4 separate regions of the Homo sapiens genome follow, and all the other regions are linked to region 2. The links are contacts of gene promoters, found by promoter capture Hi-C in blood cells and fetal thymus (Javierre and others, 2016). All regions are on one chromosome and are shown on one strand. The core of a region is centred on a gene start or on the middle of the fragment in contact, and the rest is flanking DNA. Distances in the headings are between cores, read along the strand shown. Region 1 overlaps CXCR1 (C-X-C motif chemokine receptor 1). Region 2 holds the start of ZNF142 (zinc finger protein 142). Region 3 overlaps ARPC2 (actin related protein 2/3 complex subunit 2). Region 4 overlaps PNKD (PNKD metallo-beta-lactamase domain containing).

What was found. The method cuts DNA at HindIII sites, captures the fragments that hold promoters and counts their contacts. A CHiCAGO score of 5 or more calls a contact.
Region 1: a contact is called between a fragment that was not itself captured here and the fragment with the promoter of ZNF142 in region 2, in 1 of 17 cell types (total CD8 T cells). The highest score is 5.2, in total CD8 T cells.
Region 3: a fragment that was not itself captured here is called in contact with the fragment with the promoter of ZNF142 in region 2 in 6 of 17 cell types (total CD8 T cells, fetal thymus, erythroblasts and 3 more); the score reaches 7.9 in total CD8 T cells.
Region 4: a fragment that was not itself captured here is called in contact with the fragment with the promoter of ZNF142 in region 2 in 2 of 17 cell types (total CD8 T cells and naive B cells); the score reaches 5.5 in total CD8 T cells.

Annotation. Positions count from the first base shown.
Region 1 is chr2:218,161,284-218,164,762 of GRCh38, forward strand. CXCR1 (C-X-C motif chemokine receptor 1) reads right to left here. Exons shown (of 2, transcript NM_000634.3): 2 at 1,558-3,479. The coding sequence ends at 2,876. Among named protein-coding and RNA genes, the nearest start is that of CXCR1, 3.9 kb to the right of the region's middle. The HindIII fragment of the contact is 813 bases long and covers 1,241-2,053 here.
Region 2 is chr2:218,657,557-218,660,872 of GRCh38, forward strand. It overlaps ZNF142 (zinc finger protein 142), which reads right to left and starts at 2,067. Exons shown (of 11, transcript NM_001379659.1): 1 at 1,813-2,067; 2 at 1,424-1,574; 3 at 1,145-1,320. It overlaps BCS1L (BCS1 ubiquinol-cytochrome c reductase complex chaperone), which reads left to right and starts at 2,127. Exons shown (of 8, transcript NM_001079866.2): 1 at 2,127-2,187. RefSeq lists enhancers at 1,191-1,310, 2,121-2,250. The HindIII fragment of the contact is 10,571 bases long and covers 1,176-3,316 here.
Region 3 is chr2:218,229,109-218,232,876 of GRCh38, forward strand. The region is part of intron 4 of ARPC2 (actin related protein 2/3 complex subunit 2); the gene reads left to right. Among named protein-coding and RNA genes, the nearest start is that of ARPC2, 14 kb to the left of the region's middle. The HindIII fragment of the contact is 1,516 bases long and covers 770-2,285 here.
Region 4 is chr2:218,345,357-218,348,993 of GRCh38, forward strand. PNKD (PNKD metallo-beta-lactamase domain containing) reads left to right here. Exons shown (of 10, transcript NM_015488.5): 10 at 1-1,437. All of the region lies in intron 2 of CATIP-AS2 (CATIP antisense RNA 2), which reads right to left. Among named protein-coding and RNA genes, the nearest start is that of MIR6810, 5.3 kb to the left of the region's middle. RefSeq lists an enhancer at 3,558-3,637. The HindIII fragment of the contact is 175 bases long and covers 1,978-2,152 here.

The sequences.
Region 1 (3,479 bases), core at 397-2,896, 500 kb before region 2:
ACCAAAATCCTGACATTTTTTAAAAATCTGAAATCCAAATCATTTGTGTCTTGAGCTATACCCAGAAAATTACAGGCTGCATTAGAATTTCCAATCAGCCTGGGTGCAGTGGCTCACACCTGTAATCCCAGCACTTTAGGAGGCCGAAGCAGGCAGATCACTTGAGCTCAGGGGTCCAAGACCAGCCTGGGCAACGTGGCAAGACTCCATATCTACAAAAAATTTTAAAAATTATCTGGGCATAATGGCGCACAGCTCTGGTCCCAGCTACTCTGGAAACTGAGGTTGGAGGATCACCTGAACTCAGAAGGTTGAGGCTGCAGTGAGCTGTGTATGCACCACTGCACTCCAGCCTGGGTGACAGAGCAAGACCCTGTCTCATTAAAAAAAAAAAAAAAATCCAATCGAAAAATGTTGCACTTGTTTGAAGAGTCCACTATATCCCTCCCCTGTTTAAAACACTTCTGAGTTATTTTGTTGCTGTTTGAGCCTCATTTAGTTCCTAGTGAGACTGAGCATTTTTCATGAGGTTATGAGTCATTTGCATTTCCCCTGGACCCAGTGTGGATCCCTATTTACTTACTGAAGCCTCTGATGGAGTTGTCCTTGCAGGAGCATAAGGTGAAGAAGGAGGAAGTTGGACTTTGAGGAAACAGTAGGAGAGGTGGAGGGAGATCAGCGGAGGGAGGAGAGGAAAAGGAGGCCCCAGTTCTCAGCCTTCTGCCCTAGATTCTCTGTGCATCCTTTGCATCCTTCTTGTCTTCTCTGCTGAATCAGGTCTATCTCTTAGGGCTCGAGTGCCTAACTCCCTCCTCACTCACCTGCCTGGAGAGTCTTAAGCAGGACAGACTGAGGAGCCTCTGTCTTTTGGCCCCGGAAGAGGATCTTAGATGATGCTCCAGATAGGATGGTGACCCTACCAGGCACGTCTTCTGCTCCAGCCTTATAGCTACTAAGCCTTCCCTGATATTCATTCCAGGCCTGACACCCCCTCCCTGAGCCTCACCACTCCCCCACACTTATCCCATTCCAAAGTCTCACTCTCCATATCTGGTCCCAGCTCCATGTTGAATCTCCCTGTTCCCAACACCTCACTGTGACCCTGACTCTCACTCTCCCTCCTTGTAGATCTCTACCGATTCCTGGCATTCATCCTTCTCTGACCTCATCCCAAGCTGCCACCCCATCCCTGCCCCCATCCCAGCTTTGATTTCAACATCAATCACTGATCCCCATCTGAAGCTTGATCTAGGTCCTGTCTCTGAGCCTCACCCTATTCCCAACCTCAAGCCTTCCCTGATCCTTCCCCACACAGGCTAAACCCACACTCTCAGTTTTGCTTAAGCTAGTTTGACTTCTCTTTCTATCATTTGCCATCAGAAGAGCCCTGACATCTTAAGTCCTCACTTGGGACATTTTTACACAGATAAACATCTAATGAAGCTAAACCACAAAGGCAAACTTAATAAGTGGACAGACGGAGGCTGAAAGCGGAGAGGACAGACAAGAGGAGCTTTGAGCAGATGGTGTGCAAAAGAGTGGTCTTTTCAGCATGCATTCATTCCTGTGATCATTATTTATTGAGCATTTAGTAGGCTCCAGGCACCAAGGACATACAGTGAATAAACCGACAGGGCCCTGTCTCCAAGGAGGGAAAACAGACTAGGAAAAAACTGCAACTCATGGAAAGCATTTGGGGAGGGACTGGTGAGCTCACATAGCTTGAGGCAGGGCTATGCCTAGGCAAGGCCTAACCCAGAAGATGATGCTCACCTCAGGGTGAAGCTGAGACTCCCTGGAGGAGCATTTCCTTTTACTTGTGGACAAAGGGATCTTCCTTGGCCAGGGGTATGGGCATGAACAGGAGTTTCTGTGCCTCAAGAGACTGTTCTAGCAGGAGTTAAAGCCCCAGGGAACACTGCCCTTCAACCCAGAGAGGTGCCTTCTTAGGAGGTGCTGCCCCCATTCTACTGCAGGAACAGCCAACAATGCTGCACACACCCTTGACTCTGTCACAACCAAGATACTTCCACAGGGACAAGCACGGAACAGAAGCTTTATTAGGAACATCTGCCTGCCCAATGGACTGGTGGCTGCACATGGCTTTCTAGGGATGCTGATGCTGCACGCCAGCCTGGAAGCTGCAGAGGGGAAGGGCTAAGGGCTGCTTGTCTCGTTCCACTTGGGGCTCAGCAGGTGGCCAGCACATGTGTCTGCGATGTTGGTCATGGGGGTAAAGGGGGTTCTTGTGGCATAGATCTGGCTTCCAAACCCTCTTTCTCTTTGTTCATCCACCACCCCCAAGGGGAACATGTGTTTCCAGCTCCTCACAAGGCCAGCTGGCAGGTTGATGTTTTGGCAGTGCCTGCCTCAATGTCTCCAGCAGACACTGCAACACACCTGAGATGGGAAAACCACCCCCCTGAGCTCGGATCAGAGCACACAGAGCCACCAGCTTGGTGGCTCAACGCTTAACACTCAGAGTTGAGGAGATGCTCCTGTGAGGGTCAACGAGAGCATCCAGCCCTCATGAGGACACAGCTTCAGCCCTGTTCTCTCATCTAATGTCAGATTCGGGGCTCAGATGTGGCCATGCTAATTAGCCAGTTAGTGGGTTAAAGATGTGACGTTCAACGGGAATGATGGTGCTTCGTTTCCATGGAGGTGCAAAGGCCGGTCCTTGGAGGTACCTCAACAGCTCCTCAGAAGGTTGGTGTGGCCCCTGAAGACACCAGTTCCTAACTTCCCCACATCCTATAGCGTCCCCCCAAAACCCAGATAGTGCCTGTCCAGAGCCAGATCACCTTCCACACACAACCTCAGGGTGTTGGTTATTCTTTCCTTCTGAGAAGAGATATTCCTTCATCGATGGTTTTCAGAGGTTGGAAGAGACATTGACAGACGAAGAAGTGTAGGAGGTAACACGATGACGTGCCAAGAACTCCTTGCTGACCAGGCCATGCATAGCCAGGATCTTGAGGAATCCATGGCGAAAATTTTGGCCGATGAAGGCGTAGATGATGGGGTTGAGGCAGCTATGGAGAAATCCCAGAATCTCAGTGGCATCCAGGGCCCGGCCGATGTTGTTGCGGCGCTCACAGCTCTCCTGGATCACCTGGGTCCTCATGAGGGTGTCTGCCAGCAGGACCAGGTTGTAGGGCAGCCAGCAAAGCAGGAAGATGAGGACGACAGCAAAGATGACCCTCATGGCTCGGTGCTTCTGCCCCATGTGGGCCTTAAACAGTGTACGCAGGGTGAATCCATAGCAGAACAGCATGACAAACAGCGGCACGATGAAGCCAAAGGTGTGAGGCAGGATCCGCAACACCATCCGCCATTTTGCTGTGTCATTTCCCAGGACCTCATAGCAAACTGGACTGGAATTGTTTGGATGGTAAGCCTGGCGGAAAAGGAAGAAGGGCAGGGACAGATTCATAGACAGTCCCCAGCAGCCAAGACAAACAAACTTGACCAAGTGA
Region 2 (3,316 bases), core at 817-3,316:
TAGCTGGGATTACAGGCATGTACCACCACGCCTGGCTACTATTTTGTATTTTTAGTAGAGATGGGGTTTCTCCATGTTGGTTGGGCTGGTCTTGAACTCCAGAACTCAGGTGATCCACCTGCCTCGGCCTCCCAAAGTGCTGGGATTACAGGCGTGAGGCACCGCGCCGGGCCTGGCTTCCCGAAACTCTTATCTTCTCTCTTCTGGCGTCCTAAGGGCACTCTGTACACAGCCCTATCAGAAACGAGGTCACACTGCACTGTTGTTTACCTGTCAGTCTCTCTCCCTAGATGTATAGCTTTTTTAGTAATTTGTTGACATTATCACTTCAATGATATTACTTTGTGATACTGACATTATCACTTCAACGAACACAAATCACCCACAATCGAAGATTCCAGTGAAGAACCACAGATATGGAGCTGCATTGGAGTAAAGCTAGGTATCTTGTACAAAACCAGTGGTTCCTCACCTATAACGTAACACATTTGGAGAAATTTCAAACTCATTAACTGACTATGGCCTCAAACTAAATATGGGAACATAACTGAGGAATGAATGACAATTGAATTGCATACCCTGTTATACATGGCTAAAATGAGTTTAAGCTGAATAATTAGTAATTAATAAGAATGATGGGAATCACTTCATGAAATTGAGTCACAGACAAGATGCAAAAAGAAAAAAAGAAGAAGAAACCAGGCCGGGCGCGGTGGCTCAGGCCTGTAATCCCAGCACTTTGGGAGGCCAAGGCGGGCCGATCACCTGAGGTCAGAAGTTCGAGACCAGCCTGGCGAACATTGTGAAACCCTGTTTCTACTAAAAATACAAAAAATCAGCAGGGTGTGGTGGCACACGCCTGTAATCCCAGCTACTCGGGAGGCTGAGGCAGGAGAATCGCTGGAACCCGGGAGGCGGAGGTTGCAGTGAGCCGAGATCGCACCATTGCACCCCAGCTTGGGCAACAAGAGCGAAACTCCGTCTCAAAAAAAAAACAAACAAAAACCAAGATCCTGCAATCTGATAGTCCCTATTTCCAGAATCCCATGGACTCAAAACAACAGATCACAGGGATTCACAAGGTGGCTGGAAAGTGCACTCCCGTGGTCAGAGGGATTCTCTGGAAACTGCAGCCTCCACTTACTGAATATTATCGCTGTTCTGGGGAATCTTCAAGCTTGACCATACATGGCCTCCGGGGGGAGCCAAGGAGGACGCTGAGCCGTCAAGATTAAGAACCTTCACCTGCGGGAGGGCAGGGTGAGGTAGGAGACAGGTGGGCACCAGAGAAGAAATACGCTTATCTTCCGGGCAGGAGGGCTGAGGAAGAGAAAGGACAGACTAAGGCAGAGAGAAGGCCTGGAGAAACAACGGGCCCCGGCCTAGCGACCCAGGTTCCCACCTGCCTCTGGCTCTGACTCACCGCGTGGTCTTGGACAGACACAGTCGCTTCGCTTCTCTGGGCCTCAGCTTTCCTATCTGTAAAATGGAGGTGATGACAGTGTCCACATCGTCGGGCAGGAGCTGGATCATAAGAGCCAGCGAACTGGAAAGGCGGTTTGTAACCTGGAAGGCTTGGGATGGAGCATCGTCATGATTTTGTCCTGAGAGCAGCAGGTACCCGGGCGGGGTCCAGAACCGTGACGCGACTGCAGCGCCGGGGCCCAGCTCGTCTGGGTGCTCCCTTCAGTACCTCCTTCCGAGAGTTCCCAGCGCCCAGGCCCACCCTGATCCCGGGGCTCGAAAAACTTTGCCTCCAGCTCGCTCCACCCGCATTCCCTTCCCAGTTCCGCCCCGCAGCCGCTCACTCACCTCCAGACCCAGAGCCGGCGGGAGCCGCATCTCTATGGTCGGCCGCGGCTGGAACGGCCCCCGGGGCCCGCTTTGTGCGACCGCCTCCGGCTCAGCCGCCTCTAGGATATTGGGGATGTGGAAGCCACTCTCTCTTCCTCTTGCCGGCTGCCGGGGTACTCTATGTTTTGTCTCTGTGGTTTTTCCCGCCCTCCACCCCCACTCCAGCCCTGAAGCCGGAGAAGCACCATCGAGAGCTCTGGGGTAGAGTGGCGTGGGCTTCTCTGTGGGTGTGGCGGGAAGTAGATGAAAGGACCCGGGGCGGGGCCGAACGCAGCTTCCCCAAGGTGCAGGCGCGGTGAAACCATCGAGACGGAGGGCCAGAGAGTCACGGCGGTGAGAGGGCTGAGTGACGGGTTACCCCAAACCATGTGGCTGGAGGCGCGAGCTGGGGTGTGGGCGAGGTTCAGGAGGGGGTTCCTGGGTGTCGCGGAGGGGCCGGGGACGGGAGAGCTTTGTCTGTGGCCTTCCATGCATAGGTGTTTTGGAATTCTGGATCCCAGTTCTGAGGCTCAGCCGAGGTCACTGCTGTCAGCTCACCTCCCTGCATGCCAGGCGCAGGGCAAAGTGGCCGGGGTTCGGGGTTGGAGGAGAGGTGTACTAGAAACAACTTTGCTCTTGTCCCTCAGGATCTTATTGTCTACGATGTGACGATCCGTGGAGAAAGTAGCAGATGGGCAGATTTTCATTTGGGGAGAATGAGGGAGAAAAGAACGGGCATTCCGAGCCAAGAGCACTGCATGAGCAAGGAGTTGGGAGGTTGCTTACTTGTTGAACATATTTGTTGCGTATTTGCATATTTGCTAAACAGGTAGTGTTAGGAGCTAATCCATGAAAGGTAGGTGGGCGCCGTATTGTAGAGAGCCTTGAGTACCAGGCTGAGTTTATACCCAATTCAGGGGTCTGCTGGGAGCCAGCCATTGAAGGTGCTGGAGCAGAGAGAGATATGGTATTGGAGCTGATCCCTATGATGAAAGATCTGGACCCTTGTGTAGATGTTCCGTGAAGCAGGAGGTGAAGACCTATTAAAATGCCATTTCAAGAACTACGATTTTAAAGACAGTTTAGGTGGGAGGTAATAAAGGTCTAAACAAGACGTTAAATATTGGGGACGTAAGGGGGAGGATATTTGAAGGACATTACTCATAACAAGACATAGGGTTACTGACAAGTCAACGGACGCTTCTCCCTTGCTGACTGCAGCCAATGGACCCCTTTTTATCATAGCTGGTCCCAGGGACCACAAAAATCCTGTCCATCCATTACCCTGATGTGAAGCCTGTTTATATAGCTCTTTTTGGTTTAAGGCATCTCCAGACATGGTCCTCTGGTAGGAAACAGGTATGAGTAGACTAATGAAGGACAAAATGGGATGAGGGACCTGGAGCCTCCACCCTTGCATTCCAATACCACCCTTACCCCACAAAAGGAGGGTATTGACCCACACAGTAATGCTGACCTGTGG
Region 3 (3,768 bases), core at 278-2,777, 430 kb before region 2:
AGTACAAAAATAGCTGTTGCAAGAATTAGGTTCTGTTCTATTTTTGTAATATTATCAAGGCAGATAGATAACTTCTAGCTTGTTTAAATTTTATAGTCTCAGGTTCTCATTCTGGAGGCTTAGGCACAAATAGCTGTCTTTTGAAATTTTTAATTAAAGCTCTTTAAAGCTACCGTCTTTAAATATCTCTTCTTTATAACTACCATAGGGGAAATAAGAAAGATGTCCAGACATTATGAAACTTCGGTGGCCATGCCTTGTTCACTGGCTTCTTTAAATAGTTAAGTAGCAGGTTTGGTTCCTGTTGAACTGTATTTGCTCTGAGGAGAGCCATTTATGGAAGAAAGAAAATGCTATTACACCAGTTTGTGCACGCTGTGGTTGGGTCTCAAAGCAGGAAATATGACTCAGTTCCTGAATCAGTTTTCAAATTTCTTAGTTTTAACAAACTAGGTTCTCCTTAATCTGTTAAATGAAGATATAACCATAGCTGTTTCTTTCTGAAAAGTAGTAGCTTTTGAATTATTTAAAACTTATATAATAAAAGATGATTTGTAAAGGAATATGGTCAAAAGCTTGTTTAATTTTTTAGCATAAAAACTAAAATTAGTCTTAATACCAAGAGCCATTGGTTGCTTCCCTTAGTTATTCAAATGCAATTGATTTTCTCATAAGTTCAAAGAAAGAAGAAATATTTAGAGGATTTGGAATCCAGATTAGTTTACTGGAAAAAGAAAAGCTTCAGAAAGAAGACCTAGTGCTTTTATAAAGCTTATGAAGAATTGTTTTGTAAAAGATAGTGGCTGACACTTCTTTACCAGATAAAGAGTGAAAGAAAACAAATGGCTATTAAAGCAGCCCTGCCTCTTTTTTTTTTTTGAGGTGGAGTCTCACTCTGTTGCCCCAGGCTGTACTGCAGTGGCGCCAGCTCAGCTCACTGCAACCTCCAACTCCTGGGTTCAAGCAGTTCATCTGCCTCAGCCTCCTGAGTAGCTGGGATTACAGGCATGCACCGCTACACCTGGCTAATTTTTTGTACTTTTCATAGAGATGGCGTTTCACCACATTGGCCAGGCTGCTCTCAAACTTCTGACCTCAGGTGATCTGCCTGCCTCGACCTCCCACAGTGCTAAGATTGCAGGTGTGAGCCACCGTGCCCAGCCTTTTCTTTTTTTTTTCTTTTTTTTTTTTTTTTTTTTTTTTGACAAGGTCTTGTTCTGTCACCTAGGCTGGAGTGCAGTGGCACAATCACAGCCACTGCACCCCTCAACCTCCCAGGCTCAAGCAGTCCTCTCACCTCAGCCTCCTGAGTGTCTGGGACTACAGGCACGTGCCACCACACCTGGCTTATTTTTTGTTTGTTTGTTCTTTAGAGAGAGGAGGTTTCACTATGTTGCCCAGGCTAGTTTCAAACTCCTGGGCTCAAGCAGTCCTCCTTCCTGGGCCTCCCAAAGTGCTGGGATTATAGATGTGAGCCACCATGTCCAGCTGCATCGCTGCTTTGGATCAGCTATAACTACCTGAAAAGAAGTGTTAAAATATTTGAATAGACTTTTTTTAAATTGTGTAATCATTCTCCCCTAGACAGTCTTCACTAGGTGCAAGCCTGCACAGTGGCACACACCTGTAGTGCCAACTGTGTGTTGGGACTTCACACAGTTGGCTTGAGGGGTTCAAGTGGGGAGAGTTGCTGGAGCCCAGGAGTTCAAGTCCAGCCTGGACGACATAGTGAGATTCCACCTCAAAAAAAGGAAAAGATCTAAATGCAATAATAATAATCCTGGAAAGAAAGAGTTAAGCTAGATTTCTTAAATCTCCTTTCCATTCTGTGCTTTTCTTACGATGGAGCTCCAGAACACATTGCTATTCTTGTAGCTACCACAAGGGTCAAAGAACCAGCCCCACCCACTCAAGTGGGTGGAGTAAGTAACATTCATAGTGTTGGAGCAGAGTGCACAGTAAATGGCTCCCTGGGTTGGTTAAACAGTGACCAACCCATGATAACCACAGGAAGGTTATTACTTTGTCACAGGCCATTTTTAAAGGTGGAATGCCTCTGCTGCTAGAGTGGGAAGGTAATGGTGATGAGTGATAGGTTGCCTCCACCCATCTCCTGGTGTCATTGGGAGAGGGGGTACAAACTGAAAAGTGAATCATGGTTAAAAGTGCAAGTGAAGTGACAAGGAAGTGTTGGCTGGTTTTACCAAGGGGAGGGAGCAAAGCAGTTGAACATGATATAAATTTGGCTCTCAGTACCTCTTAGATCTCAGAATATTAACTTAGTAAGCTTGAAATTAAACTAAATCTTAGGGACTTAGGGATTTAAACTAAATCCCCACCACATCTGATTTCCCCTTCCTCGAAATACCAATAGTACGTGCAACACAGACTTGTAGCTCAGAGGTCGCATGCTGTTTCAAATTCTTGGGATATGCATGTTACTTTTTTTTAAAGAAGTGGTATATCAGACACCTGAAGGTCAAGTCTCTCTGTGCCACCAAGAAACTCTCGTGACCTTGAGCCCCTCCTCTCAATTCCTCTTCGGTAAAAGAAATACCTCACAGTGGCTGTGCAATCACCAAATAGGAACTACAGGTGGCATTATTTATCTTTTGCCCTTGTGTAAGAAAATGTAGTCTTGCAGGTTGAAAATTTCTTCCAGCTATAGGAAAATGGTTAAATAAATATGTGGAATATTAGGAAATTATTGTTCAGCCAGGCGTGGGGGCTCATTCCTGTAATCCCAGCACTTTTGGAGGCCAAGGCAGGAGCATCGCTTGAGGTCAAGAGTTCAAGCCCAGCCTGGGCAACGTAGTGAGACCCTGTCTTTGTATATAAATAAATAAGTAGGCCAGGCGCAGTGGCTCACGCCTGTAATCCCAGCACTTTGGGAGGCCAAGACAGGTGGATTGCTTGAGGTCAGGATTTCGAGCCCAGCCTGGGCAACATGGTGAAACCCCATCTCTACTAAAAAATATAAAAATTAGCTTGGTGTGGTGGTGGACACCTGTAATCCCAGCTACTAGGGAGGCTGAGGCAGGAGAATTGCTTGAACCCAGGAGGTGGAGGTTGCAATGAGCCGAGATCACGCCACTGCACTCCAGCCTGGGTGACAGAGTGAGACTCCGTCTCAAAAAAAAAGAATTAATTAAATTAAAATAAAATGTTTGTTTCTTAAGCCATGTCATTCTGGAAGCAGTTTCCACCAGGTGAAGCAGTCACGGTGACAGAGAAAAAAATAGGGAGTCTCAGTCTGTTTTTTGTTGCTATAACAGAATACCACAGACTGAATAATTTATGAAGAAAATATGTTATTTGACTCATGTTCTGGGGACTGGGAAGTCCAAGAGCGTGGCACCAGCATCTGGCAAGGGCCTTCGTGCCCTTTCCCGTCATCCTGTAGCAAAAGGCAGAAGGGCAAGAGAGGGCCAGACTCAATTTTTTTTTTTTTTTTTTTTTTTTTGAGACGGAGTCTTGCTCTGTCACCCGGGCTGGAGTGCACCCAGGCTGGAGTGCAGTGGCGCGATCTCACCTCACTGCAAGCTCTGCCTCCCGGGTTCACGCCATTCTCCCGCCTCAGCCTCCCAAGTAGCTGGTACTACAGGCGCCTGCCACCATGCCCAGCTAATTTTTTTGTTTTTGTATTTTTAGTAGACATGGGGTTTCACTGTGTTAGCCAGGATGGTCTCAATCTCCTGACCTCGTGATCACCCCGCCTCGGCCTCCCAAAGTGCTGGGATTACAGGCATGAGCCACCATACCTAGCCC
Region 4 (3,637 bases), core at 815-3,314, 310 kb before region 2:
CCTGGAACCCAGGGTCCATCTTGCCCTTCCCCCATCCATGGTTGGGAAAGAAGCTCAGCCCCTCACAGTGGCCTCAAGTGTGATGCCTTACAAAAGCACCACTCAGATGGGCAGCTGGACTCTGGTGTCCTGAGACTCTGCCCTCTTCCCACAGCCTCCCTGCCCCACCCATCCCTGCAAAGCCATTTTTCAGACAGAGCCATTCCTAAGAACACTGAAGGGCTGGAATGCTGGCTGGCCACTCTCTGCCTCAGTGGCCTCCCTACAGCCTGGAAGAAGGAGGGTCCTGATTGCCAAGGAAACCTCCTCATTGGGCTAAGGAGACACTGGAGTCTGGAGTGTGGAGCCCCACAGTCTTGCAGGTCACATGCTCTCCTTGCACATCTGGCCTGGTTGTACCCACTGGCCTCTGCCTCTGCCCTGGGCCAAAAGGGCCCCTCCTTGCCAGGGGAGAGACAGCCACGGTCCTCTTTGGCCGATGCTGTATTCTCATTTTGGCCCTTGTTCTTAGGCCCGTCTGCCCGCCTTCCTCCATCTAACCTTTCCTGTTTTATCCGCAGCCCTTTTCTTCTTTGAGTTAGTAAAGATTTATTCTGTAACCTGACACTCATCTGGCCCTTTGCAGTTTGCCAGCCATATTCCCATGTGATTTCCCACTGGATCCAGGCCCCCATCCGGCTGGCAGGAGGGGGCTCTGACGTGCAGGTTGGAAATCAGAAGTCTGTGAGAGCGCGGGAGTGCATGGCAGCTCTGGGTCCCAGACCTGGCCCGACCCCTCTGCTTCACCTCCAGCTCTGCTGCTCCTCTACTCTTGGGTCGAGATCCCTTTGGAGCCACAGCGAGGAACCCTGTGGTCCTCAGGCAGGTGTACCTTGAGTCAGCCAGGAGCCCTCTTTTCCTGTGTCAAAGCCTGCCCTCGGGCTCTGCTCACCTCTGGTGACCCTCCAAGATGCCCCTGCCCTCAGTTTCCCCTCATGATCTGGCCTCTGCCCCCTTCTCTAGCCACAGCCTCTAGTACACTTTAGCAATACCACCAGACTAGTTAGAGTTCCCCACTCACCAAGCAAGACATGCAGTTTCATGCCTCTGTGCCTTCGCTCATGCTGTTTCTTCCGACTGGAATGCCTTCCCCTGCTCCTCCTGCCTTGTCTGCCTGGCAAGTTCATCTCTCACGATCCCCTCAAAGGCCCCCTCCTCCAGGAAGGCAACCCCTGTGCCCCTCCCCTCCAGGCTACCTCTGCACTTTGTCAATGCTTCTCTTGTGGCACTTATCACACTGTATTTTACTTGTTTACATGTTTGTCTCCCCTTCTAGACTGTGAATCCTTAAGGGCATGGACTGTATCTTATGCATCTCTGTATTTCTGCGCCTAGCACGGTGCCTAGCACACAGTAGGCGCTCAATAAATGTTGAATGAATGAATGATTTAATCAAGACTTGATCACCCAACAGCTTGTCTTTGTTGCTACATGAGTGAAAACAGCAGAGAACTTTCTCACAGTTTTCCCATCTCAGTTCCAGGCCTGCTAACTTGCAGTTAGGCACTTCAAGAGTTTTGATCAGAAATGATGCCCAAAGGCTGGGCGCAGTGGCTCACACCTATAATCCCAGCTCTTTAGGAGGCTGAGGCGGGTGGATCACAAGGTCAGGAGTTCGAGACCAGTCTGGCCAACATAGTGAAACCTCATCTGTACTACAAATACAAAAAATTAGCCAGACATAGTGGCAGGAGCCTATAATCCCAGCTACTCAGGAGGCTGAGGCAGGAGAATCACGTGAACCCAGGAGGCGGAGGTTGCAGTGAGCCGAGATCGCACCACTGCACTCCAGCCTGGGCGACAGAATGAGACTCTGTCTCAAAAAAAAAAAAAATTTTTTTAAAAAGAGAGAGAGAAATGATGCCTAAAATATGTTCTTCCCAAGGCCCATGGGCATTTGTTCAGGGTTTACGATTTGCTTATCTCAATGTTTCCCAAAGCTTGAGATACACAAGTGTACCACTGGCCAAAGTAGGGTGGCTGTACATGGCCACAGCACAGCAATCAATTGGACTTCAAGGACACGGTCTTGGCACTAGTCTGTCTTTAATGTCTTTGGAAAGAAAGACCCGGGATCCAGGTTCATACTTTAGTTGGGAAATGTCTGTAGTTAAGCTTTAACAACATCGTTTTGTTTTCATTATATTTATATTTGGGTTCAATATTTATTTTTGACAAGTGACACTGGTTTTCAGTTCATAAAAATGATTAAAGGGCCGGGCGTGGTGGCTCACGCCTGTAATCCCAGCACTTTGGGAGGCTGAGGCAGGCGGATCACGAGGTCAGGAGATCACGACCATCCTGGCCAACATGGTGAAACCCCGTCTCTACTAAAAATACAAAACTTAGCAAGGCATGATGGTGAGCGCCTGTAATCCCAGCTACCCAGGAGACTGAGGCACGAGAATCGCTGAACCCGGGAGGCAGAGGTTGAAGTAGGCCAAGATCGCACCACTGTACTCCAGCCTGGGCAACAGAGGGAGATTCTGTCCCAAAAAAAAAAAAGATGAAATTTGGGTGGGGACAAAAAGCCACACCATATCATTATAATAGAACAACTTATATTCCTTTGGGTATATAACCAGTAATGGGATTGCTGGGTCGAATGGTAGTTCTGTCTTTAGGTCTTTGAGGAAACACCACACTGTCTTCCACTTTGGTTGAACAAATTTACACTCCCGCCAACAGTGTATAAGCGTTCCTTTTACTCTACAACCTTTCCAGCGTCTGTTATTTTTTGACTTTTTAATAACAGCCATTCTGACTTGTGTGAGATGGTATCTCATTGTGGTTTTGATTTGCATTTCTCTAATGATGAGTGATGTTGAGCTTTTATTCATATGTTTGTTGTCCACATGTATGTCTTCTTTTATTTATTTATTTATTTATTTTTAATTGATCATTCTTGGGTGTTTCTCGCAGAGGGGGATTTGGCAGGGTTATAGGACAATAGTGGAGGGAAGGTCAGCAGATAAACAAGTGAACAAAGGTCTCTGGTTTTCCTAGGCAGAGGACCCTGCGGCCTTCCGCAGTGTTTGTGTCCCTGGGTACTTGAGATTAGGGAGTGGTGATGACTCTTAACGAGCATGCTGCCTTCGAGCATCTGTTTAACAAAGCACATCTTGCACCGCCCTTAATCCATTTAACCCTGAGTGGACACAGCACATGTTTCAGAGAGCACAGGGTTGGGGGTAAGGTCATAGATCAACAGCATCCCAAGGCAGAAGAATTTTTCTTAGTACGGAACAAAATGGAGTCTCCTATGTCTACTTCTTTCTACACAGACACAGCAACAATCTGATTTCTCTATCTTTTCCCCGCATTTCCCCCTTTTCTATTCCACAAAACCACCATCGTCATCATGGCCCGTTCTCAATGAGCTGTTGGGTACACCTCCCAGATGGGGTGGCCGCCAGGCAGAGGGGCTCCTCACTTCCCAGAAGGGGTGGCCGGGCAGAGGCGCCCCCCACCTCCCAACGGGGCGGCGGCCGGGCGGAGGCGCCCCCAACCTCCCGGACGGGGCGGCTGGCCGGGCGGGGGCTGTCCCCCCCTCCCTCCCTGATGGGGCGGCTGGCCGGCCGGGGGCTGGACCCCGCCT